Linked DNA regions of Homo sapiens: regions 1, 3 and 4 are each linked to region 2. Evidence: promoter capture Hi-C in 16 types of primary human blood cells and fetal thymus (Javierre and others, 2016). All regions are on one chromosome and are shown on one strand. Each heading gives the region's core, a stretch centred on a gene start or on the middle of the fragment in contact. The rest is flanking DNA. Distances are from core to core; before and after follow the strand shown. Region 1 overlaps GBP7 (guanylate binding protein 7). Region 2 holds the start of GBP6 (guanylate binding protein family member 6). Region 3 has its middle 14 kb from the start of GBP4. Region 4 overlaps GBP7 (guanylate binding protein 7).

What was found. The method cuts DNA at HindIII sites, captures the fragments that hold promoters and counts their contacts. A CHiCAGO score of 5 or more calls a contact.
Region 1: a fragment that was not itself captured here is called in contact with the fragment with the promoter of GBP6 in region 2 in 3 of 17 cell types (activated CD4 T cells, non-activated CD4 T cells and naive CD8 T cells); the score reaches 8.3 in activated CD4 T cells.
Region 3: a contact is called between a fragment that was not itself captured here and the fragment with the promoter of GBP6 in region 2, in 2 of 17 cell types (non-activated CD4 T cells and total CD4 T cells). The highest score is 7.7, in non-activated CD4 T cells.
Region 4: a fragment that was not itself captured here is called in contact with the fragment with the promoter of GBP6 in region 2 in 7 of 17 cell types (activated CD4 T cells, non-activated CD4 T cells, naive CD8 T cells and 4 more); the score reaches 11.6 in activated CD4 T cells.

The regions. Positions count from the first base shown.
Region 1 is chr1:89,150,426-89,157,043 of GRCh38, reverse strand. It overlaps GBP7 (guanylate binding protein 7), which reads left to right. Exons shown (of 11, transcript NM_207398.3): 4 at 4,267-4,376; 5 at 4,580-4,776; 6 at 6,469-6,618. The region is part of intron 3 of LOC105378842 (a long non-coding RNA gene); the gene reads right to left. Among named protein-coding and RNA genes, the nearest start is that of GBP7, 22 kb to the left of the region's middle. The HindIII fragment of the contact is 1,023 bases long and covers 4,127-5,149 here.
Region 2 is chr1:89,361,347-89,367,774 of GRCh38, reverse strand. GBP6 (guanylate binding protein family member 6) reads right to left here and starts at 3,716. Exons shown (of 11, transcript NM_198460.3): 1 at 3,648-3,716. The HindIII fragment of the contact is 2,752 bases long and covers 3,258-6,009 here.
Region 3 is chr1:89,209,868-89,216,457 of GRCh38, reverse strand. No RefSeq gene overlaps it. Among named protein-coding and RNA genes, the nearest start is that of GBP4, 14 kb to the right of the region's middle. The HindIII fragment of the contact is 2,042 bases long and covers 1,075-3,116 here.
Region 4 is chr1:89,166,808-89,173,377 of GRCh38, reverse strand. It overlaps GBP7 (guanylate binding protein 7), which reads left to right. Exons shown (of 11, transcript NM_207398.3): 2 at 1,424-1,632. The coding sequence starts at 1,443. All of the region lies in intron 3 of LOC105378842 (a long non-coding RNA gene), which reads right to left. Among named protein-coding and RNA genes, the nearest start is that of GBP7, 5.9 kb to the left of the region's middle. The HindIII fragment of the contact is 3,033 bases long and covers 38-3,070 here.

The DNA of each region.
Region 1 (6,618 bases), core at 3,389-5,888, 210 kb after region 2:
TAATCCTGAGTTCTAGTTTGATTGCACTGTGGTCTGAGAGACAGTTTGTCATAATTTCTGTTCTTTTACATTTGCTGAGGAGTGCTTTACTTCCAACTATGTGGTCCATTTTGGAATAAGTGCGATGTGGTGCTGAGAAGAATGTATATTCTGTTGATTTGGGGTGGAGAGCTCTGATGTCTATTAGGTCCTCTTCATGCAGAGCTGAGTTCAATTACTGGATATCTTTGTTAACTTTCTGTCTCATTGATCTGTCTAACGTTGACAGTGGGGTGTTAAAGTCTCCCATTAGTATTGTGTGGGAGTCTAAGTCTCTTTGTAGGTCTCTAAGGACTTGCTTTATGAATCTGGGTGCTCCTGTATTGGGTGCATATATATTTAGGATAGTTAGCTCTTGTTGTTGAATTGATCCCTTTATCATTATGTAATGGCCTTCTTTGTCTCTTTCAGTCTTTGTTTGTTTAAAGTCTGTTTTATCAGAGATGAGGATTGCAACCCCCGCTTTTTTTGTTTGTTTTCCATTTGCTTGGTAGATCTTCCTCCATCCCTTTATCTTGAGACTATGTGTGTCTCTGCTCATGAGATGGGTCTCTTGAATACAGCACACTGATGGGTCTTGTCTCTTTATCCAATTTGCCAGTCTGTGTCTTTTAATTGGAGCATTTAGCCCATTTACATTTAAGGTTAATATTGTTATGTGTGAATTTGATCCTGTCATTATGATGTTAGCTGGTTATTTTGCTAGTTAGTTGATGCAGTTTCTTCCTAGCATAGATGGTCTTTACAATTTGGCATGCTTTTGCAGTGGCTGATACTGGCTGATCCTTTCTATGTTTAGTGCTTCCTTCAGGAGTTCTTGTAAGGCAGGCCTGGTGGTGACAAAATCTCTCAGCATTCGCTTGTCTGTAAAGTATTTTATTTATCCTTCACTTATGAAGCTTAGTTTGGCTGGATATGAAATTCTGGGTTGAAAATTCTTTTAAGAATGTTGAATATTGGCCCCCACTCTCTTCTGGCTTGTAGAGTTTCTGCCAAGAGATCTGCTATTAGTCTGATGGGCTTCCCTTTGTGGGTAACCTGACCTTTCTCTCTGGCTGCCCTTAACATTTTTTCCTTCATTTCAACTTTGGTGAATCTGACAATTATGTGTCTTGGAGTTGCTTTTCTCGAGGAGTATCTTTGTGGCATTCTGTGTATTTCCTGAATTTGAATGTTGGCCTGCCTTGCTAGGTTGGGGAAGTTCTCCTGGATAATATCCTGAAGAGTGTTTTCCAACTTGGTTCCATTCTCCCCATCACTTTCAGGTACACCAGTCAGACAGAGATTTGGTCTTTTCACATGGTCCCATATTTCTTGGAGGCTTTGTTCATTTCTTTTTACTCTTTTTTCTCTAAACTTCTCTTCTCACTTCATTTCATTCATTTGATCTTCAATCACTGTTACCCTTTCTTCCACTTGATCAAATTGGCTACTGAAGCTTGTGCATGCATCACGTAGTTCTCGTGCCATGCTTTCCAGCTCCATCAGGTTATTTAAGGTCTTCTCTATGCTGTTTATTCTAGTTAGCCATTCGTCTAATCTTTTTTCAAGGTTTTTAGCTTCTTTGTGATGGGTTCGAACATCCTCCTTTAGCTTGGAGAAGTTTGTTACTACTGATTGTCTGAAGCCTTCTTCTCTCAACTTGTCAAAGTCATTCTCTATCCAGCTTTGTTCCATTGCTGGCGAGGAGCTGCATTCCTTTGGAGGAGAAGGGGTGCTCTGATTTTTAGAATTTTCAGCTTTTCTGCTCTGGTTTCTCCCCATCTTTGTGGTTTTATCTACCTTTGGTCTTTGCAATGGTGATGCACAGATGGGGTTTTGGTGTGGATGTCCTTTCTGTTTGTTAGTTTTCCTTCTAACAGTCAGGGCCTTCAGCTGCAGGTCTGTTGGAGTTTGCTGGAGGTCCACTCCAGACCCTGTTTGCCTGGGTATCACCAGTGGAGGCTGCAGAACAGCAAGTATTGCAGAATGGCAAATGTTGCTGCCTGATCCTTCCTCCGGAAGCTTTGTCCCAGAGGGGCACCCGGCTGTTTGAGGTGTCAGTCGGCCCCTACTGGGAGGTGCCTCCCAGTTAGGCTACTCGGGGGTCGGGGACCCACTTGAGGAGGCAGTCTGTCCATTCTCAGATCTCAAACTCTGTGCTGGGAGAACCACTACTCTCCTCAAAGCTGTCAGACAGGAATGTTTTCTTTATTTTTTTTAAATTTTATTAACTTTCATGGTATTTCATTAAGTTCAGGGGCACCACTGGACTTAAAATATTTTTTAACTTCTTTATTTTATTTTATTTTATTTTATTTAGTTTGGGGGTAAGCCTGAACTTAAATTTAAAGTTAAAAAAAAAAAAAGGAAAATAGAGGCCAGGTGTGGTCGCTCACACCTGTAATTCCAGCACTCTGGGAGGCCAAGGTGGGTGGATCACCTGAGGTCAGGAGTTCAAGACCAGCCTGGCTAACATGGTGAAATCCCATCTCTATTAAAAATACAAAAATTAGCTGGGCATGATGGCAGGTGCCTGTGATCCCAGCTATTTCAGAAGCTGAGGTGGAAGAATTGCTTGAACCCAGAAGGTGGAGGTTGTAGTGTTTGCACCATTGCACTGCAGCCTGGGCAACAGAGCAAGTCTCCATCTCAAAAAAAAGAAAAAAAGAAAATAGAATTTTTGGCTTTCATACTGCAAAAATTATAAATGTGTGTGGGGTCTCATTTAGAAACAGTGAATTTAAACATACAGTACTAAAGTTATCAATCATCATTTCAGTGTACAACAAAGATAAAATATTGATTTGAAATAGATTGTAATGGGCATAAACTTTTTTATTTGCAAAAGTATGACTGTTCAAGGGACCAAAATATACAAATATATACATGCTTGATGGAAGCAAAATTACTTGTTGGCCTTGGAATTTGTGGATTTGGTCAGCATTTAATTCTATTTAAGGGACCTTCATGTCTTGCCCTGAATATTATTTCCAGCCTTGTCTTCTCCACATACCTATTCACTCATTCAGTTGAATTAAATAACTCTGTAATGTCATTATATGATCATACCCTAACAATTTTGACTTGGGTTCTGTTGGGTCTCTCACCTTTTTAATTCTTTCATTTCCACAAGTCCTGATTTTATGTACTCCTTAACGTCCAGCTCGTTTCAACCTACTGCCATCTTATTTGAGTTAGACATAGTAACTTCTTGCTTGAACTCATAGAGCATTTGTTTCTCTTTATTTTCCTTCCTTCTCACTTCCCATTTTTTGGATTGTTGTCTGTTTTGTTTTTTACATTACGACTTTTGTTCCACTCCTGGCAGAAGTTATCATCTTGGTTGCATTTTTATGTTGACAATGCTATCTGCCACTCCTGAAAGTCATCTTCTTGTGATTATGGAACTTTGCATCCACAAAATCAAAGGCAGCATCTGCATTTTGTACATAGCTGAACAATTTTTGGTGAATTCAATTGATTAACATTGGCATTCCTAATATAGGCATGATTGAGAAAATTTGCAAAAGGATTATTGTTCACTAATTACTACATACTTACTATGCTGTAGGCACTGCATTAAATATTTTACACATTGACAGTGTCAATTGCTACTTTTAATATCTAAAGAAAGAGAAGCCCTGAGAAAATCAATATAAATGGCAAAAATACAGCTTGACTTTAACATGATCTTCAAAATTCATATTACATGCCCTACTATTCAGCTATATATACTACAGCTGAAATAGTGAATGAACAACCAAATGAATGAATTAATAAGTGAATGAATCAAAAGGAGACTCTTAAGTCCTATCTGTAATGTGCTTTCTAGTGTCACAAACAATATCAGATTAAGTTTGGAAAAATTTAAGTTTATTGCATACAAAAAGTAGAGAGCATCATTCAGGAGACTTCATACCAAGATGCTCTCCTCATAATGGTTACAGCACCACTGATAAAGCATAAAGGAAGAAATATATTTACTTATCGTGTGATTGGCTTTATACATTAACAATATTTTTAGGGCAAATAGAGATGTTTAGGTGCTTTTTCTATAGCTGATTTATTTAATTTCACTGAATCATGCTGGCAAGCATATAAAGCTTACATTTGTGTTTCCTTTAGACACAGCATTTTGGGAAAACTGGAATGACTTCAGTTTTGGTTACATGGATACAAGTAGTTGACCTTGAGATGTATCTAAACTGTGGCTTCCATTTTTTTTTTTTTTTTCTTTAACACTAGAGTGACCCTAAGAGTGACTCGTGGATCTTTGCCCTGGCTGTGCTTCTAAGCAGCAGCTTTGTCTACAACAGCATGGGCACCATCAACCACCAGGCCCTGGAGCAGCTGCAGTATCCTTCCAGGAAGTGAAGAGCCAGGTTTTATGGAGTTTAGGGGAATGGAAACTGATACTGTGTCTTCTTTGTTGTGACTCAGTTGTCCTGGTTGAGTAAGAAGAGAAACAGTGCAAAAGGGAATGTGTATAAAACTTGTTTCTAAGTGAGATGTGGAAATGATGGTGTAGGGTGCTATCCTTCCTTAGCTGAGATCCCAGCTACGTGACTGAGCTAACAGAGCTAATCAGGGCAAAATCGTGCCCCAGACCTGATGAAGTTGAGGACTCCAGCGAGTTTGTGAGTTTCTTTCCAGACTTTATTTGGACTGTTCGAGATTTTACCCTGGAGCTGAAGTTAGATGGACACCCCATCACAGAAGATGAGTACCTGGAGAATGCCTTGAAGCTGATTTCAGGTATCAGAGCATGGCCTAGATGGGAGAAGGTTCAGTAGCGGGTGGGATCAACTAGGACCTACCGTTCAACACCTGACACAAATTTTTATATTGGACTGGATTGAGGCCCTTGCTCATGGTGGTTGGTGATTGATAAGTGATTATGATTTTTGTGGTTATTTTTGCTTGAAATTTCCCAGAGGCTGAGGTTCAAATTCATTGAGGAAATTTAAATCTCAAAGTTCTATCAAATGATTTTAGACCAATAAGTACCATGAAAAATATATTGAGGATTACAATTAGTATTATCACATCCTAAGACTCATATATTTGTGTTACTTATTAACTTCAAGTGCTCCTCCTATTCTATTTGGAGAAAATTAACTAATAAGCTTGGAAGCTGGTAAACACAGAATCGCAAGAAGTCAAATGATCCAATTTTGGAAATATATTTCACTCAGTCTATTTTATTAGCCTGGATACTTATAACCTTTAGAGAAAAAGGAGATTCATACAGTTAATGATTCAGGAAATTAAAAAAAAAATACACAGACATATGCTTCCAGTAGGACTGTCAAATCCTTTATTTTACCATTTTCATAACATCACCTACTTCATTCTACAGTCTCATATAATATGTTGTCAATCTATTATACATTTGTTAAACAGATTATATTTAGTGGAGTGGATACCTGTTGGCACCTACAATCAATATCCATCTTTGTTCATTTGTTCATCCTTTCAACAAATATTTGTTTTGAATAACTGATATATGTCACAGAATCCCTCTGCAAGACAATGTTAGACCTAATATAATCTGACCTGAGTATTTTCCGTCTCTTTCAAACATTTTTCCCAGCCACATCTTGTCCTTGTTTCTAGCATTTAAATTTTAAGCCCAACATTTCATTTCTGACATGGGGACAGTAAGATTGAGAAAGTCCATGATGCTATGTAATATTAGCCAGAAACAGGAAGAAAAATATGACAGGACCTCATTTCTATATGGATTCTATTTCAAAACGTCAAATACATAGAAACAGAGAGTAGAACAGTGGTTACCAGGGCATGGTGAGGGAGGAAATGAGGACATGTGGGTGAAGGGTACAAACTTGAAGTTATATAGGGTGGGAAAGTCTAGGGCTCTAATATACTGCAGGAGAACTATCCTTAACAATATTGTATTTTACATTTAAAATTTACAGAGATTAGATTTTAGGTACTCTTACCACAAAAAAAGGGAAGAAAAGTATAGAAAGTATTGGATATATAATTTGCTTACTTAGTAGTAATTTCACTATGTACATGTATATCGAAACATCATGTTATAACGCCTTAAATATATACAATTTTTAAAGAAAGTACTTCTTATCATATTTTAGTTAATCATAATTCAACAAACATTTTAAAAATCGTCAGTCTACGGGACATCATACAGTGGCTGAGGAAACCAACCACAAATTCCTTCACTTGAGGTGGATGCATTCCCTTCATTTCCAGAAGTACCTTTTTGACTCTGCTTTGTGCAGAAATTGACTTTTCATACCTTAAGTAGATTAGCATAAGTTTGGTTGCATGAGAGGTTTGATTACATAGAGTAGATTCACAGACACAAGAGACTGTAGTGATTGATGGAAGGAACTTTGGAAATGAAAATCTTCAGGCTCACTTAAAACCTGTTCTTCAGTAGTCACTTTTTCACTAATTCTGCAGGCAAGAATCCCCAAATCCAAAATTCTAACAAGCCCAGGGAGTGGATCAGGCATTTCTTTCCAAAACAGAAGTGCTTTGTCTTTGACCGGCCAATAAATGACAAAAAACTCTTACTCCATGTTGAAGAAGTACGAGAAGACCAACTGGATA
Region 2 (6,428 bases), core at 2,467-4,966:
CCTGTTCTGGTTTCTGTTCTGCCTACCTTGGATTTCTGGTATGTCATACACAATGATTTCTTGTGTATGATATCAAAACCACTGGAAACAAGTGAAAAAAATTAGATACACCACACTTCATCATAATTAAAAACTTTTGTGCATCAAAGAACACTATCAACAGAGTAAAAAGGCAATCTATGGAAAGGGAGAAAATATTTGCAAATCATGTTTCTGATAGAACACATAAAGAACTCCTAAAACTCAATAGCAACAATAGCCAAAAATAAAAATTCAAAAATGGATAGAGTAGACTAGACGTTTATCCAAAGAAGAAATGGCCAATAAGCACATGAAAACATGCTCAACATCATTAATCACTAGGTAAATGAAAATCAAAACTACAATGAGGTACATGTTAGACCCACCCATTAGGACTGTTATTTTTTTTAAAAAGCCCAAAACTTCAAAACTGAAAACAGGTGTTAGCTAGGATGTTGAGGATTTGGAACCTGTGTGCACTGTTCATGGAATGCAAACTGGTACTGTCACTATGAAAACAGTATGATGGTCCCTTGGAAAACCAAACATACAATTAACATTTGATCAAGCTATTCTACTTCTACATATACACTCCAAAAAATTAAAGGCAGGGACTCACACAGATATTTGTACATCAATGTTTATGGCAGCATTATGCACAATAGCCAAAAGATGAAAACAGCTCAAATGACTCTAAACAGATGAATAGATGAACAAAATGTTGTATATACCTACAATCAGCTATTATTCAGCCATAAAAATGTAGGAAATTATGACACATGCTACAACATGGATCACCTTGAAGACATTATGCCAAGTGAAATATGCCAGGCGCAAAAGAACAAATATTGTATGAGGTACTAGAATAATCAGATACATTGAGACAGAAAGTAGAAGTGTAGCTACCATGGGCTGGGGGAGGAGGGAATGCAGAATCATTGTTTAAAGGTAGAGAGTCTCAGTTTACAATGATGAAGTTCTGGAGATAGCTGCACAACTAATGTCACCGAAGTATTTTCTTAATTAGTAAAATAGTAATTTTATTATGTATATTTTACCAACAAAAAAGAGAGTAAAAGACAAAAGCCTGGATAATCGGGCAACCTATTCCTCTGTGTTATGCTACTGCAACCACTTATCTGTCAAAATAACCTACCTCAAAGACAGTGGTTATGCTATAAGGTTTTTGATCGACAACCTGCAGTAACTTTTTAATGATCATCATATACTGAAACTTGTTCTCTAATGCATCAGTGTGACCTTATATGTTTGTCTTTTATCTACAGGTTTGGAAGAGTGATGGGAATAGAAGGGAGAAGGGAAAGGATCCACTATGGGATGAGAAAACTCTAGAGAATACAGGCTATCTTTCCAAAAGGGAAGCAGGAGAATGTCCAGAATCTAAAGAATTCAAGTACAGGCTGAAATACGTAGCCTAGAAGGGTCAGGTTCTCTGCAATTTACTCCCACAGACAAGAATAAGAAAAAGAATAAGAATAACAATACATATAATATTGCATATTATTTATGGAGATAAATTATAGATATCTAGAGAGAGAGAGAAATTATGTACATACATATTAATAGATAAGTTAGAGAGATTTCTTTTTGAGAGATAAAGTCAATGTCACTTTTGGGTGAATCGAGGTGAAAGGCATATGGGATTTAATTGTAATATTTTTAGAGGTGAAGTTTAATTCCATAAATTTAGTATTGAAAGTACAATTATTCTGTAGGTCTCCTGGCACATTTTTATTGCCATTATATTAAAATGGTTTTCTATGATACCTGTATTTCCTTATAATTAGAAAAATGTAAACATAATATTGTCTTCAAATGCCTCAAATACTCAGTTTAGAATTGATATGTCAGACACTCAAGATGCATCTAATGCCACCAAAAATACCAGCTCTATCATTCACTACTTATGTGGCCTTGACCAAGGAGGTCAAGCTAGCTGAGCCTGTTAATTATAGGGGTCTGTGAGTTAAATCATACATCCAACCTGGAGGGTGTTTTGATAATAAAACGAGACATTATAAGTTTATATCTTTGCATAGCATGCACCACACAATAGGATTTCAGTAAATGTTGAATTAAATGGAGGTTACTACAATAATTACAATAACAATTGGTCCATTAGATTATATATTTCAACAAAATATACAAACTATAAGTTACTAAGAAACAAAAACTACAAATAAATTTTTCACGGAAGCAAAACTGTAAAGTTCAAGCACGCTGTTGCTGTACAACCTGCTCTTGTCTGATTCTTCACTGAGGGGAGTAAGGAAAATGGAGATCAAACACGAGGTCCTGATTTCCACAGTGAAATGCATTGTAATGTGATGTGTAACGTGTTCATCACATTACAGTGACTGCAACTGTACAGTCCCTTCTTTAAAGTGAACAATAAAGGCAGCTCTAGGAAGATGTGGCTGCTCCTGCAAACAACTTTATATAAACCAGGTCTCTGGTTTCTTAGCTGTGTGGGAACCACAGACCTTTTAACTTCTACTAAATGAAATACAGCTGTTCAATCCTATTCAGGACTGGTTTTCACACTCTGATGTACATAAGAATCACCTGATCACTCTGATGATAGTTTCTTTTGCTGTGCAGAAGCTCTTTAATTAGATCCCATTCTCAGCAAACTAACACAGGAACAGAAAACCAAAAACTGCGTGTTCTAACTGGTAAGTGGGAGTTGAACAATGAGAACATGTGGACACGGGCGGCGGGGGGTTGGCGCTGGGGGTGGGGGTGGGAAACTCACACACTGGGGCCTGTCAGTGGGTGGAGGGCAAGGGGAGGGAGAGCATTAGGACAAATACCTAATGCATGCGGGGCTTAAAACCTAGATGACGGATTGATAGGTGCAGCAAACCACCATGGGACATGGTGGTTTTTAAAAAAATCTTTTTTATTTTAAACATAGTGTCTATTCTTCATCTTTTTTTTTTTTAAAGAATCAACTGAGAGGATTGTTCAAACCCAGATTCCCAGGCCTAAGTATCCATCTGTTTAGCAAGAGCTACAAGAGACTCTGATGTTCCTATGGGAAACTAACACCCCCCTCCTCCCCCACCCCCTCCCCACACACACATACACACACACACACACACACGCACACACAGAGTTTGGACTATATAATTATTTTTAAGTAATAAAGACCAGTGATGTGGGGCCTAAGTTTATTTCTACATAGAGATTTATAGAGCTCTTATTCTGAAGCTTTCCTAAGTGTGACCACTAGAAAGATAGACAAGAAACTCTCCCTTCCGGTATAATTGCCTGGAAGCTCCTTGTTCTCTGCATTCTGGGGCTTGCCGCAGGACCTGAGAGAGATAGCCAGGCAGGCGCCCACCAGGGCTCATTCCAGGCCACTCACTGCTGTCCTGAGTTGATGATCAGGGAACAGCACATCCAGGGGGACGCGGCGTGCCCGGCTGTCACTGGTTCAAGTGGAGAAGCTGAGCTTCCCCAGAACTAAAGCCAGCCACAGACTCCTGCAGGCCAGGCAGCAGGCACCCTGCCCTTCCTGCCCATTCCTCAGTTACCACTCTGAATCAGAAACCAAGTCTTGAGTTAGGAACTAAGTTGCATTTAAAAGAAAGTGAACATACCTGCTCTATAGCACCGCAGGTCCAAGAACAGTTTTCAGTTGCCTCACTCACCTCTTGTTTTCTTTCCTCCTTTTACTTTTCTGTTCTTTCCTTTATAAAAGGAAAAAAAAGCTGAGTAAGCTAGTTGTTTCCACAAATGGGATGGTGCAGTAAAAATAAACTTGGAAGTAAAATTAATCCATGCTTTTAATAAAGTGTTAGCAGAGCCATGCCTGAATCATCCGATGTGAGTTTGAGGATGGGTGTTGGGTGCAGGGGTGGGAGGAGGTCAGAAAAAGCCACAGATACTGCACAGTCACACCTTAGCAAGCACAATCCTGCCAGCTTTCTTTTGTCTTTCCCATCTTAGAAGGCTTCACAGGCTTTCTTCTTGATACCGTTCCCAGGTGGCTTTAGTTTCCTAGGCACACAAGAAAAACAGGAAATCTACAGTAGTCACATAAGCAAAGCCTTAGAAACCAAGAATATTTTAAGCATTTTTCTCTTAGTGGGAATTCTTGAGTTCTGGGGTCTTTTGTTAGTGAAGAACTTTTGATATTTTAAATGTGTTCACACATGCACACACACACACAGAAGAGAGAGAGAGAAAGAGAGAGAGCTAAAGATATTACTGGTTTAAAAAAAGAATGAACCATGTCTTTTACAGCAACATGGATGGAACTGGAGTTCATTATCTTAGGTGAAACAACTCAGAAACCGAAAGTCAAATACCACATTCTTACTCATAAGTGGAAGCTAAAAAATCTGCATACATGGACATAGAAGGTGGAATGTGCAGTGCATAACAGTGTACAAGCTCCTATGAGAATCTAATGCTGCTGCTGATCTGACAGGAGGCAGGTCTCAGGCCTTAGTGCTCTCTCCCTACTCACCTCCTGTGTGGCCCAGTTTCTAACAGACCATGCTCTGGGGGTTTGGGACCCTTGATGTGGACTATTTATCCAACAACCCACAGTTTCCATTGGTTGAGTCTTATCCCCAGGGACTTTAACTATTTTGAATTCACAAGCTGCCCTTGGGCAAAATAGACACCCTTTCACAGCTTGGAGAAACATCTGAGTGAGAAAAGGAGAAAGACTCTCTACAGAGGACATAGCAGCATGCTGGGACTGTCTACCATGGCTGCACTGCTAAATGGATTTGAGAACAGAAGCAAGTGGCAGAATGAGCAGACATGAGTTTTGGCAATAACTTAGGCTGAGGATTTGGGGAGTGTGGTAGACTAATCTGAATACTCTATTCAGACAAAGACTTGTGTTAAAAATGTAAAATTCTGGGCCAGGTGCGGTGGCTCACTCCTGTAATCCCAGCACTTTGGGAGGCCGAGGCGGGCGGATCACGAGGTCAGGAGATCAAGACCATCCTGGCTAACAGGGGGAAACCCTGTCTCTCTCTACTAGAAATACAAAAAAATTAGCCGGGTGTGGTGGCGGGCACCTGTAGTCCCAGCTCCTCAGGAGACTGAGGCAGGAGAATGGTGTGAACCTGGGAGGCAGAGCTTGCAGTGAGCCGAGATTGTGCCACTGCACTCCAGCCTGGGCGACAGAGCGAGACTCCATCTCAAAAAAAAAGGAAAATTCTGGATTCAAAAATGTTTAATATTTTCAAAAGCAATATTAAAAATTGACTAATTTGTCATGAATGATCTTAAAGACCAAATTCCAAGGGAAGGTGAACGCCCAAAGAGTTAAGTGGAGTATTGAAGCTGTTTTTTTTCTAATAGCATTTGCCAACCAAGGGAATGTGACCTTCAGTTTGGAAGGCATTTATGAAGAGGCCAAAAGTCAAAGACCAGAGCTTGTCTAAAGTAAAGAGTCTAGTAGGAGGCCTCCTTTAGATGTTATAAGACTAAACCAGTGATTCTTAATACTTGCTGCACATAAACATCAATTGAGGTTCTCCTTAAAAACTTGAGCTCTGATCCATCACCAGAGACTCTGATTTAGTAAGTCTAGAGTTGAGGGTGAGTGTGAGTGTTTTTTTAAAGCCTCGCCCCACCTCCAGGTGGTTCCAATTGCAGTCAAGGAGGCAAAGAACTGGAGTAAATGTCGAGAGCAACTGTGAACTAGAACTAGCAGGGCAAGCAGGTTTAGGACTGGCTAGCTGGAATAATTTCAGTGGGCTCTGGGGCAGAGGGATTGTTCTTACTTTTGATATTTGGCCTTTCGGTGAGTAGGGCAGATGGATAGTGGCCCAGAGAATGAGAGCCAACAGAGAAAGTGGCGGGGTGTGGGCTCCAGGTTGGTTGGTTTGCATATGAAAGGCACACTTGCAGGAGAATCCTGTAGTATCTCTAAGAACTGGCAAGCCCAGGGAGGGTCAGTCTCTCCAGGATCAGCAAAGCCCCAAGATGTCTAAAGCTTTAGATAGGGAAACTAGAAAATGTGTTAATTATGGGGTTGCATATATTGGATGGTCCATGAAGTCAAGCCAGGAGCTTAGCACAAAACACCCAGAATAGTCAAAGTGACCTGAGAATGAAGAACAAAGCTGGAGGCATCACACTTACTGATTTCAAAATGTATAACAAATCTACAGTAATTAAGACAGTATGGAACTGGCATAAAAATAGACACATAGATGAATGAAACAGAATAGAGAGCTCAGAAATAAAATACAATATTTTGAAAATATATTGAAAAGGTTCTCAACATTACTAATAATCAGAGAAATGCAAATCAAAACAATAGTGATATATCACCTCCTACCTGTTAGGATGGCTATTACAAAAAAATAGATGAGCATTGATAAGGATATAGAGAAACCGGAATCCTTTTACAC
Region 3 (6,590 bases), core at 846-3,345, 150 kb after region 2:
AATAGACTGGATAAAGAAAATGTGATACATATACACCATGGAATATTATGCAGCCATAAAATGAGATCATGTCCTTTGCAGGGATATGGATGAAGCTGGAAGCCATCATCCTCAGCAACCTAACACAGGAACAGAAAACCAAACACAGCATATTCTCATTCGTAAATGGGACTTGAACATTGAGAACACATGGACACAGAGAGGAGAACAACAAACCCCAGGGTCTGTTGGGGGAGTGGGGGGTGAGGGGAAGAAACTTAGAGGATGGGTCAATAGGCGCAGCCAACCACCATGGCACATGTATTCCTATGTAGCAAACCTGCACTTTCTGCACGTGTATCTAGTTGTTTTTTTTTTTTTAGAAGAAATAAAGAAAAAAAGAGAGTCTGTTAAAAGCCCAATTGAGAGTTTTTTCCCCTAAAAAAATTTTTCTTGGTAATGTACCCCTTACAGAATGTATTAACTCATTACCCAACTTGGCCATTCTAGAAACAGTATATTAATACTGGCAAAGTAAGGAAAACTTATTGAGAGCCCACTTCTTATTAACCTGTATAGTAATAAATCAGGCAATCATTACTGCTTACCAATAACATTGATTAGAAAATTGAGGCTTAGAGAGGTAAGCTCACCTCCATGGTCTTATAGGAAATAGGTGATTTGAACCCAAGGGGTTGAATTCTGGCAGTCTCCAGAATCTGTGCTGTAACATCCTATTACAGAAACGTAGGTCCTGCTGCTCACCACACAGAAAGCCAATCATTGAGACAATGATTATTGCCAAGGAAAAAAGCTTTACCGGGGTGCTGAAGCCAAGGAGAGGGGAAATCAGTCCCAAATCCATCTCCCTGACTAACTAAAATTAGGGGTTTATATAGCAGGGAAGGATGTAACTATGTGTGAGAAAACAAGAACTCGAAAGGAGTAAGGAGGCAATCAGGATAAATGAGGGGCCTGGTGTCTCATTGTCTCGATGCCATGATTTGCTGAGTTTCAGTTCTTTGATACTTTTTGAGAGGTCTTGGGATCCTTTCCAGAGGAACAAACTCAGATAAAACATGTAAGTTTCAAGCTTTAAGACCAGAAGGATCAATTTCTATGTTTATCATAAAAACCTGTCTATGGGACTATTAGGCCAGTTTCAGTCCCCCCTTTCTATTTATCAGTTCCTCAATCATGGGGAATCTGGTCATTGATCTTTCTGGCTGCTTCCTGCTGAGGAGGGGCATCATAGACAGCTCCCTATTCAGGGTGACTACGTGGCCACCCAAGAATCAAAGATTAACTCAATACTATAATTTTCTTCTAAAACACATTTTTTTCTCTCTCCAGTCCCCTATTTTCACTAAAGACAAATCACGGCAGGACCAACCTACCTGCAAAATAAACTTCAGGCTCATATACTGGGTCTGATTACCCACACAAAGTACAGCAAGAATCATTGACCACATAGGCTCTCCTAAATTAGCTTTGCTGAAACCTCTCACAAGGCCATTTCAGTCAAAGCTCTGGGAAAATAACCAGTTCCTCCAACTGTGTCCCATTATAAAACAGGTTCTTACTAAACATATCCAAACTAACACATTGCCATAAATTAAGAAAATTTACAGTTTGCAAATTCTTGAGAAATTGGGCAGAGAGAGAAATATGTCTCAAATTTGGTTTACAAAAGTATACTCTATTCAATATACATAAAAGTATGTTTGAAGGCCATAAATAGTGCAAAAGAAAAAATTCTCCAGACTGAAAAACAAAAGAAAAAGAATTGGTAATATTTCAAACAAAAAAATCCATAAAATTATTTCAGTCTTCCCTTTATTCCGTCCGTGCAATCAACTCTTGCTCTGCTTCATATTATGTTAGCAAACTTTTTGAACATATTAGCCTTTTAATTAGAGTCCAGCAAGTTTTCTCTCTAATCCAGTGGCACCATCTCCAAAGCTATCAGAAACCTGCATTCAAGAGTCATTTTCATGAACTCCCCCAAAGAAGCAAGGCCCAGACTGCAGCTAATTATAAGTCACTTTTTGAGAAGAATCAAAGTAAAACAATTGTGGATGACAAAAGCCTTAGGACAACCATAGTGAGACACACAGTTGACATGGAACTTTGGTTATTTCTGTGGTGTACAATAATCTAACATAATAATCATAATTATTACTGACAACATATATTAATATATATAAGAATTTCAGGAATGTCATACAATCTTGGAACACATATTAACAATATTTCTATATAAATAAAACCCAAAGTTAAACACCACTTCAAATTTGACAATGCTTCCTGTATAATTCTAACATAAATAAACCTAATATGTCTTTCTTGGACTTCAGGAAACCTAATATCCAAAAAAAGTTAGTTTAAGGTCAAAAAGACTTAATTTGAACTTGAAATTTTGCTGTTGGAAAGTCTGTCAAATATCAAAGGTTTAAAACACTTGATATCACAAAATAGGATCACAAGATACCATAAAACAGTCATTCATTTTGCCAAAATTATGATACAAAAATGTTTTCTCTTTGATAGGAGACTCAGTTTCCTAAACAATAAGACCCAAGAAAGACAGCATGAGGCCAACTAAATCTGTGTTTCTCCCACCATTTTTTTCTTCTGTAGTTTTACTCAAAAGGCAAACAAAACTCTCTTATCTTTTACATGAAAATTTTGTTCAAAAGAGAAAGCCATATTTTACCTTTGTATGGTGTATTTTTAATGTTAAAGCTAACTTTAATAAAACCTTATCAACAAATCTATCTAATTTTAATTTTTTTGACCATAGGGTATTTCCATAAGTATTTTATAGCCTATTACAATTTTCTATTAAAGAGCAGATCAATGCTCCAAGAAAACCTCTGTTAGTCTGATGCAAGGCCCAGATGCTTGCATTAACGTGCTTTTGATATTAATGTTTAACTTACAGAAAACCTCTGAACTAATCTTACCCCTCAAAATCAGCCCTTACAATCTCACTTGCCAACCTCTTCTGCAATAGTCCCTGGGCCTAGGGGGATACCACAGTTTTAATTTCTGGTCCTGTGTCTCATGAAGGCAGTTCATTTTGATTGTCACCTTCTCCCAGGTCTGAAAATGAGGCTTTGAGTGATGTCAAAGCTTAAGATTCGGCAGAAGTCAGTGCCTTTTTCAGACCCAGGGGTCAAAGGCCTATAAGATAACAGCACAAGGATTAGTTAATAGAATATTTATACTATGGAAAGTTCTATCATTCTCTCTAACATATTACAAATTAAAACACTGTGATTTGGTATCTAACAGCTACTGCCTGTAGCACTTCAAACCACTGTATTAGAGTAGTTAGGTTACTCACTGCATATGTCTAATTGCTAGCACTCTAGTAACATAACTGTGACCAAAGGCATCAGAAATATGATAAGCTCTATGCCAAACTTATCAAAGTAAGACAAGTAACTTTCCTCTCCATCATTTAAAAGAATGGTAAGGGAAAAAAATCAGTTTGGGAAATTCAATATGAGGATGAATAAACAAACTGTTTGCATTTAAATATTATACAACAAAATATAAACAAAGTAAGGGTAAGCACACAGTAATGTCTCCTTCAGCTCTTTTAAAAGGGCATCATCACATATTTCCATGATTGCTTTCTAGATACAGTACTGACAAATGATTAGGTGACTTTGACCAATAAAATCTTCAAATCAGTGGAACACTAGCACATATTTTGTTTTCAAGTACACACATCAAGGCCCATGATAAATGGCTTGAGATCAAAGATCATTAGAAAGTCTCACATTGTTTTACTACTTCATCCAAGTGACTGTCACTTAATTTTAATAATGGTAAACACAACTAAGAGAGAAATTCCAATCAATATAATTTCCTTAAGGACAAAGCCAATCTTTCCTAAAACTTTGTACCCATATCACAGTTTTTCTTCATTAACTAAAGGAAAAGATCTGAAACCAACTCAATTTATTGGTTGAATTGAATTACCTTGAAAATAAACACCATTTAAACATTTTTATTCTCACCTACTTTTTCAAATAACAAAATTAATAAAGTACACTTAGTGCTCAGAACTTATAAAATTAAGTAATTTTTTTCCAGGAACCTTAAAGCTCCTGTAGCTCTCTAGATCATTAGAGGTAAGCAAATCTACCAAATTTTAAATGGCTGGTGTGCTTTATCAATATTTGCTTGACAAAGGCAGCTTAGGAATTCTAGATAAATAGATAAATAGAACAAATGATGATTTGTTAGAAATGTATAGGAAACAAAATGCATGGTCATAGAGCCAAATAAAAGCCTTCCATTAGAAACCAAAAAGCATCAATGGTTTTATATGTGTGTGTATATAAGTACAACCCAAAAGAGAACAAACAAAAATAAGTGAAAATTAAAAGCAAAAGCAAATAAACTGGAAACTAACCCCAAAGTTCTCTCCTACTCAGTTAACCTTGAAGGCTAAAGTGTTACTCAGAGCCAAAAATGAACACATAATAGGTATTTTGTTCCTGGTACACAAATTAATATCTTTAAGTCCACCAATACCACTATACATTGTGTGCAATTAAGAAGTTCACTTTAGGTGGCTGGGCATGGTGAGTCATGCCTGTAATCCCAGCACTTTGGGAGGCCGAGGTGGGAGGATCACAAGGTCAGGAGATTGAGACCACTCTGGCTAACATGGTGAAACTCTGTCTCTACTAAAAATACAAAAAATTAGCTAGGTGTGGTGGCGGGTGCCTGTAGTCCCAGCTACTCAGGAGGCTGAGGCAGGAGAATGGCCTGAACCCAAGAGGCAGAGCTTGCAGTGAGCCAAGATCGCACCACTGCACTCCAGCCTGGGTGACAGAGCGAGACTCCATCTCAAAAAAAAAAAAAACTGGTTCACTTTAGGCACCATGACCAGTAAGTATTTTAGTGCTAGTATATTCTATGCAGAAGAGCAAACACAGTATAAAACAAAGCAATGCAAGCATTTACATAAAATTTGGCTCTATGTTAAATCTGGGCTCATGCTTAACTATACTAAAAAGAATTACCAAACTACTAATATATTTCATTACAATATTTCTTAAGTTATCTTCACCAAGTTTAAGAACTTTGACCATGAGCAATGTTAATTAGCCAAATTTCTTCAAGTTTCTATCAGGTTTTAAAGAATATTTTACTATCTAAATTTTTTCAACTTTCTGTTTTCCCTGTATAAGCATGAAGGTAGACACACAGAGAAACAGGGAAGAAATGACATGTGACTTACCTAGATCATCTATGGCATGCTTAGACTTTCTGTTCTGTCCTAAATTTTCCTTTCTTTTTAAATAACCAGTCATTTCATTTTAGGACAAAAATACACCATATAAGATCCATTTTCATATAAAATTATTATCTTTTCTTTATAACCTTCATTATCAAAAATATATCCTCACATCCATAGCTTTCTTCACATCTCTCTCTGCTACTTACTAGTTCCTTTCTACCTTGTTTCATAAATAACTGTTTTAAGTCTATAAATTAGCCTTTAGATAACTTCTGAATTTGACAAAATAATTTTTTCTCAATAAGAGCTCAGCTTCTTTGGCATATTTTATATACAGAATTATATATTAACCATAATTCTTATCCTTAGTAACCTTAAATTTTAGTGAAACCCTAGGAAACAAGAAATCCTGAACTATCAGATATTAGCAATTTATAGATGAAAACAATTCCACAATCTTGGGAAACATATTTCCCATATCATAACCCTTTCTTAACTGGAAATTACTCAGGCATCTAATGAGCATCAAAAATAATTTTAAGATTTTACATTGCACAAGAAGTTCACCCAAGGTACTTATTCTTTATATTTTACTTTATTATTTTACTTTACTTATTTTTAGCATATCTAGATTATTTATGCATCACTTATTTCCTTGTTTACCATTTTATAACCTGTGAATATCAGGTGTTCACTTAAAGAAGAACCTTAAAGTTAACTGCATGGACATTTTAAGACATTTCTATTTTTATTTTACCTACAATTTTAAAGCCAACTTGTTCAGTAAAGATTCACTTAAGTCACATGAACTTGACAATTGCTTGGACTTATTTACTTAATTTATGAGTACTCTATTATTTATAAGTTAATTTGGTAGACACCATATACTACATAATAAATGTACATACACATAAACGCATCTAGACATGTATACATGCACACAAAGATCCAATACCTCTTACCTTGGTACTCTAGCCATGAGATAACAAAGAAACTCACCAGTCTACAAACATGTTCACATGGCTGAACTTTGTTAGCCCTGACCTGAGAGGTAATCCAATGAAAGCTATGAACCAAAATTTTGGGTAAGCAGTTTCTATGGCAGTTTGACTTTTAAAGGCCAAACCTCCCTAGACTCCAAAGAGCACTGAGGCCAAACAGCCCCACAGACAAACAACACCACAGACGAACAGCACCTGGAACCTACTAATCAGCCCAACCCTGCTTCAAACAGCAATATAAAAGCCTGAATACATGGAACGCCATCTTGCTTTCCCATTTAACATCAAACTTCAGATTCCAAAGAACACTGGGGCTAAACAGTATTAGAAAAGAATAGCAGTTTATC
Region 4 (6,570 bases), core at 305-2,804, 190 kb after region 2:
TGGATTGGAACTGGAAATATCAACAGAATCTCAAGCTTTATTATAGAAATGTACAGATAAAAATAAATATAGATGTGTCCTAGTATACATACATATATTTCTTAACTTTGCCCCTGAGTGGGTCTAGAAATAATGAACACACCTAGAGTGATATATTGGTGTCAAAGTACCATTATCCATTGAAAGAAACCAAAGATACTGGGAGAAATGTTAGATTCTAGGGATAAAGCAGGAAAAATACAGATATTTTTTCTAGAATACGTTGTGGAGCCAAAAAGGAAAGAAGCGCTGAAAATATGATGGAAGCATGTAAAAAAAAAATGGATCCAGCTTGAAGAAGCTCTCAATGACAAAATCTAGGACAAGTTGAGTAACAGAACAAATATTGACAGTAAAGTATTGAAACCCTCAGAATAAAACTAATATCTCTGAGTCTGCATTGATACAAGTAAATGATTAAATGAGCAAACAAAATAAATAAAGAAGGAACAGCCCTTGCTCACGGTAGAACTCCAGTTAATATAGAAAGAATGACTATAATAGAAAATCCTATTTAGTCAAACACCACAAAAAGAATCATCAATAAAAACTAAAAGTAGTGGCTGAAAAAAAAAAAAGTATGATGAGATTGTATTTGCATAGTCTCCAAACTGTTTCTCAAAATGGAAACTTTTTAGTGACAAAGTGGCACATAACTCTTTAAGGTGGCGAAATCTGGCAGCAAGCACTTTAACCAAGTGATCAAAGTTAAGGCCATAGCACCAGAAAAAGTAATGTCAACATCATGAATCCCTTAATACAAGACACTGAAAATGGCAGAACATCACTTCTGTGACATTTGCAAAAAAAAATGCATAACTTCAATCAATGAGGAAACATCAGAAAACTCCAAATTGAAGGATATTCCTCAAAATCACAGGCCAGTGCTATTCTAAAATGTCAAAGACATGAAAGACAAAGAACGAATAACGAACTATCAAAGATGCAAGAAAACTACAGAAACATAATGACTAAATGCAATGAGGGATCCTGGATTGGATCATGAAGCAGAAGGACATTAGTGGGAAAATGGTGAAATGTGAATAAGGAGTGTAGATTAGTTATCATTGTATTGATGCTAAAACCCTGGTTTCAGTAATTGTTCTATGGTTAAGTAAAATATCGACATTAGGGGAAGCCAGGGAAGTGGTGTATGGGCACTCTTCATACCTATCATGCTTCTGTAAGTCTATTTCAAAATGAAATTATTTTAAAGGGCAGACAGTGGCCCAGTCTATAGGACAGCCTTAAAGGGCCACAGGTCTCCTTAGAAATGCACAAGAAACAATGTTCAAGAATAGAAAACAAAGATTTATGCCCTATTATAGATTTCAGCTCAACTGACTTACCAGACATTACTTTCCATTTCATTTTTTCCTTGCAGACAGAGGAACGCCCTGAACATGGCATCAGAGATCCACATGCCAGGCCCAGTGTGCCTCACTGAGAACACTAAAGGGCATCTGGTGGTGAATTCAGAAGCTCTGGAAATCCTGTCTGCCATTACACAGCCTGTAGTAGTGGTGGCAATTGTGGGCCTCTACCGCACAGGCAAATCCTACCTAATGAACAAGCTGGCTGGGAAGAACAAAGGTGAGTGGCACCAGCAAAGCATGGATGAGCCCCATCTGTCCAGTTACACAGTCAGTATCTAGTATGAAGATGGGATGAGAGAAAGTTAGTGTTGGGGATAAGTATTGATAGCTAACTTTGAATTCATCAGTGAACCCTTCAAATTCACTCTGGAGGATTGGAGTCAACTGACTCTTCTCACTTTGCCTTTATTTTCACATTTCATATATAAATAAGGTATTAATAAAAAAATTAAATAATAATGCATTATTAAATATTTACTAAAATATTTATGTAGTGATAGCAAGTTTCCACAGAACTTTAAGATAAAATGAATGTTTCAATCCATATTGGATATTCTAATTTCTCTATTTTTTGTAATTAAGGTCACTATTGGTTATAATTTCTCTTATCTCTTTTACATGAGACTGTTGTCCAGTGTCAGGGGCTCAGTGTGGCTTACAAAGCACCAAGCTACCAGTCAGAAGGCTGATGTTAAAGTGTAGTTTGTATGTCTTTCTAACTAAGCCAATCAGTTACTATTTCTACTCTTCAGTTTCATCATTCAGGAAATGAGTGATTTGACTACCATATCTTGAGTTCCTCTGTTAACTCACAATAACAACAGATAGTCACTCTCCAAAGAAATGAATATATTCAGGAATAAGCAGGGGATTTATAAATTCTGGAAATGCATGCTATAACAAATAATAAACTCATCTGGAAATGTTAAGGCAGTGAGAAACTTTTAAAGGCAAAAAGGAGACATATACGCCAGTTGATGTAAAATGAAAGTTCATTGGTTTACAGGATCATATTGCAGGTGGGGACATGTGCATTAGCTGTTGCTTGAGAGAGTTTTATGCATAGAACCCTGACTGCAGGGACCCTGATGGCAGCAAGTAAGGCCACTTGCAAGATTGTGGTTAGGACTGGCTATTACTGGAAGTACAGAAGTAGCCTTTGTCGCAAGGTTGTAGTTTGGCAATGTCTTAATGGCAGTTTCCACTACAAGAAAGTATACATGAAAGCCCTTCCTTCATGAACTCCTGACTCCATTTTGTTAGGGTTTGGCATAAGTGACTCCATTTTGCTTCTGACAACTTTTGCAGTTCCCCCTTTGATCAAGATCTTTCTCTGAAAGCATCTCTGATCGATCATCCTGTAGTTTTATACTTTGTGTTCCCTAGTGCTTGGATGCACTTGATTTGGTTGGTTTGGTCCCAAGTCAGGGGAAAGTGATTGGTGACTGGGAGTCATTTTCAAAACCATTTTAGCCACATTTGAGCAACAAGGAGGTTGGGAAGGAGTGGGTTTCAGGCTAATTCTACCTGGAATTCATTATTAAGTCAATTTTTTCAATTCCACATTTTCAGCATATTCTTTAAGTGCTGAGCCAGCATTATTCTGTTAGGAGTGTCGTTTCTGCAGAAGTCAGACAGGTAACAGGTACAAAGCTTAAAGAAAATAATGCAAAGCAAAACCAACAGGAGCATAACAAATTCATTTTGGATGATGGTTCTGAACCAAGAGGCCAATTAAACAAATTAAAAGACCATGTGGAACTGGGTAAGATTTTTTATAGGCATTGAGTCTTTTATGTAGTTTGATTAGTGATTCTATTATTTAGCATCTCATAACTTGGTTAAATTAAAGCCGAGAGTGCTAACTCTGTAAAAAGGGATCACTGGTACAATTTGAACAAAAAGTTGTGTTAGGAATATTGCCAAAGTGATTCACTACATGGAAGAAAGCATCTGTTAGGTCAGGTAAAGATTTGGGATTGGCATGACAGATCCAACATTCCATCAAGTACGCACAGAAGCTGCTGATTATGAAATTATAACTATAGCATTATCCTGTCAAGTGAAAAAGAAGGCACAAGCAAAGAAAATTTAAGAAGGATAAGAGTCTCATTTTTATAAGTATTGTTCTATCATTCTTAGAAAAAGCTGTCCATAGCATGAAGCCATCAACTTCTCATACTGGTTTACACACTAAATGTCTTTGGGTATGGCATTGAGTGGTTTGGTGAACTTTTTGTGTGGCCCAAACATGAGACATGAGACTCATCTCTTGAAATTTACATTGAGTTGTGTAGCTTTAGTGTATAGAGCTTCAGGAACAGAGCAGTTTTTTATTTTAGCAATTCCAGGCCAGAAAATTGGGTTGGACAAACCTAGAAGAATTCAAAATTTAGTCCAGGTTGTAGATAAATAATAATAAACTCAAAAGTAATGCATAGGGCTGCAATCTAATGACAGATGAACTATAGTTTTCCTTTCTTAATCATAAATTTTCTCCTCTAGTCGTTCCAGTTATTACCAAGATAAGGTTTCTTTGTTTGCAGAATAAATTTAACCTCATCAAACAAAGCCTGATTATTTATACAAGTACAGCAAGAACAGTCATGAGGCTCTTTTAAGTTTGCTTCGTTGACACTTTAAGCCAATTAAATAGAGCTCTTTCACATATCTTGGGAAAATTATTACATACACAAAACATGCAAACATAAATACATACACAAGCAAAGGTCACAGGGTTTTTCACTTTAAAAATTTTAGTCATAACATGGTAAAACAGAGATACAAACTCACTTGTTTGTAAAAAGGACAGCTAAATCCAAACTTATTTTTCTGAAAAAACAGAATAAGTTAAGGTTACTTGCTCAAATGGCTAACCTTTTGAGATTTTCCATTTGCCTTTAACTGTTAATTCTATGGAGGCTGTGGACTAAATTTGGGGTAAACTGCAGCTTCCACAGGAGTTTTTTTGTTTTTTGTTTTTTTTTTAACTTGAGGCGGAGTTTCGCTCTTGTTGCCCAGGCTGGAGTGCAATGGCGAGATCTCAGCTCACCGCAACCTCCGCCTCCCGGGTTCAAGCGATTCTCCTGCCTCAGCCTTCTGAGTAGCTGGGATTACAGGAGCCCGCCACCATGCCTGGCTACCGTTTTTTGTTGTTGTTGTTGTTGTTGTTGTTGTTGTTTGTATTTTTAGTAGAGACAGGGTTTCTCCATGTTGGTCAGGCTGGTCTTGAACTCCTGACCTCAGGTGATCCACCCGCCTTGGCCTCCCAAAATGCTGGGATTACAGGTGTGAGCCACCACACCTGGCCAGTTTGGTTTTAAGTATAAAAATATTTGTCTTCCTTTTAAAAAAAATCAGTCTCAAATGAGTATAGTGGTTAATTCATCAGGTGTTTATATTTTAGCTAGAGCTGGTGGAAAAATACATGCTCCAAGCAGTCTTGAATTTAGTAACAAATTTACCTTTCTTTTGTTTGCGTTTTGCTTTGCTCAACTAGTCAGCATGGGTGGAAAATATTTTAGGAATATTTTTTAAAAGGTTATTTTCAGTTTTTCTGTTTTCTCTGGTCCATATGGAAGTGAAGACATTTTCTACTCACAGAGAGACCTATTATTACTCTGAGCTCTAGATTTTGGCCAAAGCACAAAGGGGTTAAAAAGCAGACCTAGTTGACTGGAGAGCCTAACTTTTATAAATACTTATCTAGTTCTTTTCCTTTTTTTTCTCCTTAGGAATGGGTAGGTAACCAAGCGAAAAAGTAAGAGGAAAAATAGAGCAAAAATAGAGAAGTTAGAAGCCTCTATATGCCAATCAGAAATACATCTCATTGTTTCTGAGATGTTTGGGATCCCTTCCAATTTTAAATGCTCTTCTTAAAGTGCAGTTCTTGAAAGTTCATCTGGAATGTTCCACATAATGGCCATTGTAATTCTAAACTACTGTTGGTGTAATTTCCCCATCAATTGAGAAGTGTGCATGAGATGGACCATAAATATAGCTGGCTAGAGTCCCAGGAGAAAGATTATTCTGACATGCCTTTAAATTTGAGTATCTCATTTTGTTTCTCATTAATCTCTGAAGAGAAAAAAATAAAATCCTATGAATCTGGTTGGGAATGTCAGGAGTTTGGACTCGTGTTTTGTTTCACAATGTACCTGGTCCAGGGTATTTATTTTAGTTGGTGGACAGTCATTGCCTTAGTTGTCCAACCCATGACCACATTTTCCCTGCTGCATGGACATTTTCTTAAGTGTGGCAGATGCTCTAATGGTAACCTTGCCCATCCATGGCCAGTTTACCTTCACACAAAATACTTTATCTTCAGAGACTGGAGTCCCTCATTAATGATGGCACTGCTTTAATTGCTTTAAATTGGTCAACCCATGCCTATGTTTGGTACGTTTATTTTTGCTCTTGGCAGATGTTCAGAAGTAAGAAAACACTCAATTCACCAAATTTTTAAATCAAGCAGGCAGACCAAACAAAATATTAAACCAGGCATGCAGAAGTTAAAACAAACAAACAAACAAAAAAACACAGAGTACTCACCAGAAGGACAATGTTCTTATCTTGTGAAGGGCTTCCCAGAAAAGACAAAGTTGTTTTTAGGCTAAGAAGGGATTCAAGGCCTTTTATTGAGGTGACCTTATCCAAATAAGATCCTGAACTAGACAAAAAGAAGGGATTTTAACCCAAGGGGAGACTCAACACAGTAGAAAAGGTCAGCTGTGGAAATGAAGAAATCAAAGGGCTCAACAAGTGAATACCATGCATGGTTTCAGGGGCTGATGATCATTCCAAGATGAGCTCACTTTGGGTCCTACTTCTGATGCCAGATTATGTCAAGCTAAAATAACAAGAGAGAAAGTAGTTCTCCAAAGAAATGAGTTTATTTAAGAATGAGCAGGGGACCATATGCATACCAAATTCAGGTATGCACATTATAATAAATCATAGGTGCATCCAGGGTGGTTGAGACGTGGGAAAGTTTAAAGACAGAAAGGAGAAGTACATGCAGGGTGTTCTGAAACAAAAGTTTATTTGTTTACAGGAGCTTACTCACAGGACTTAATATGTGTGCTGGCTCTTGCCAAGAGAGAGTCTTCACAGAAGGCACCCTGATTGCAGGGACTCTGATTGCAAGTTAGACCAC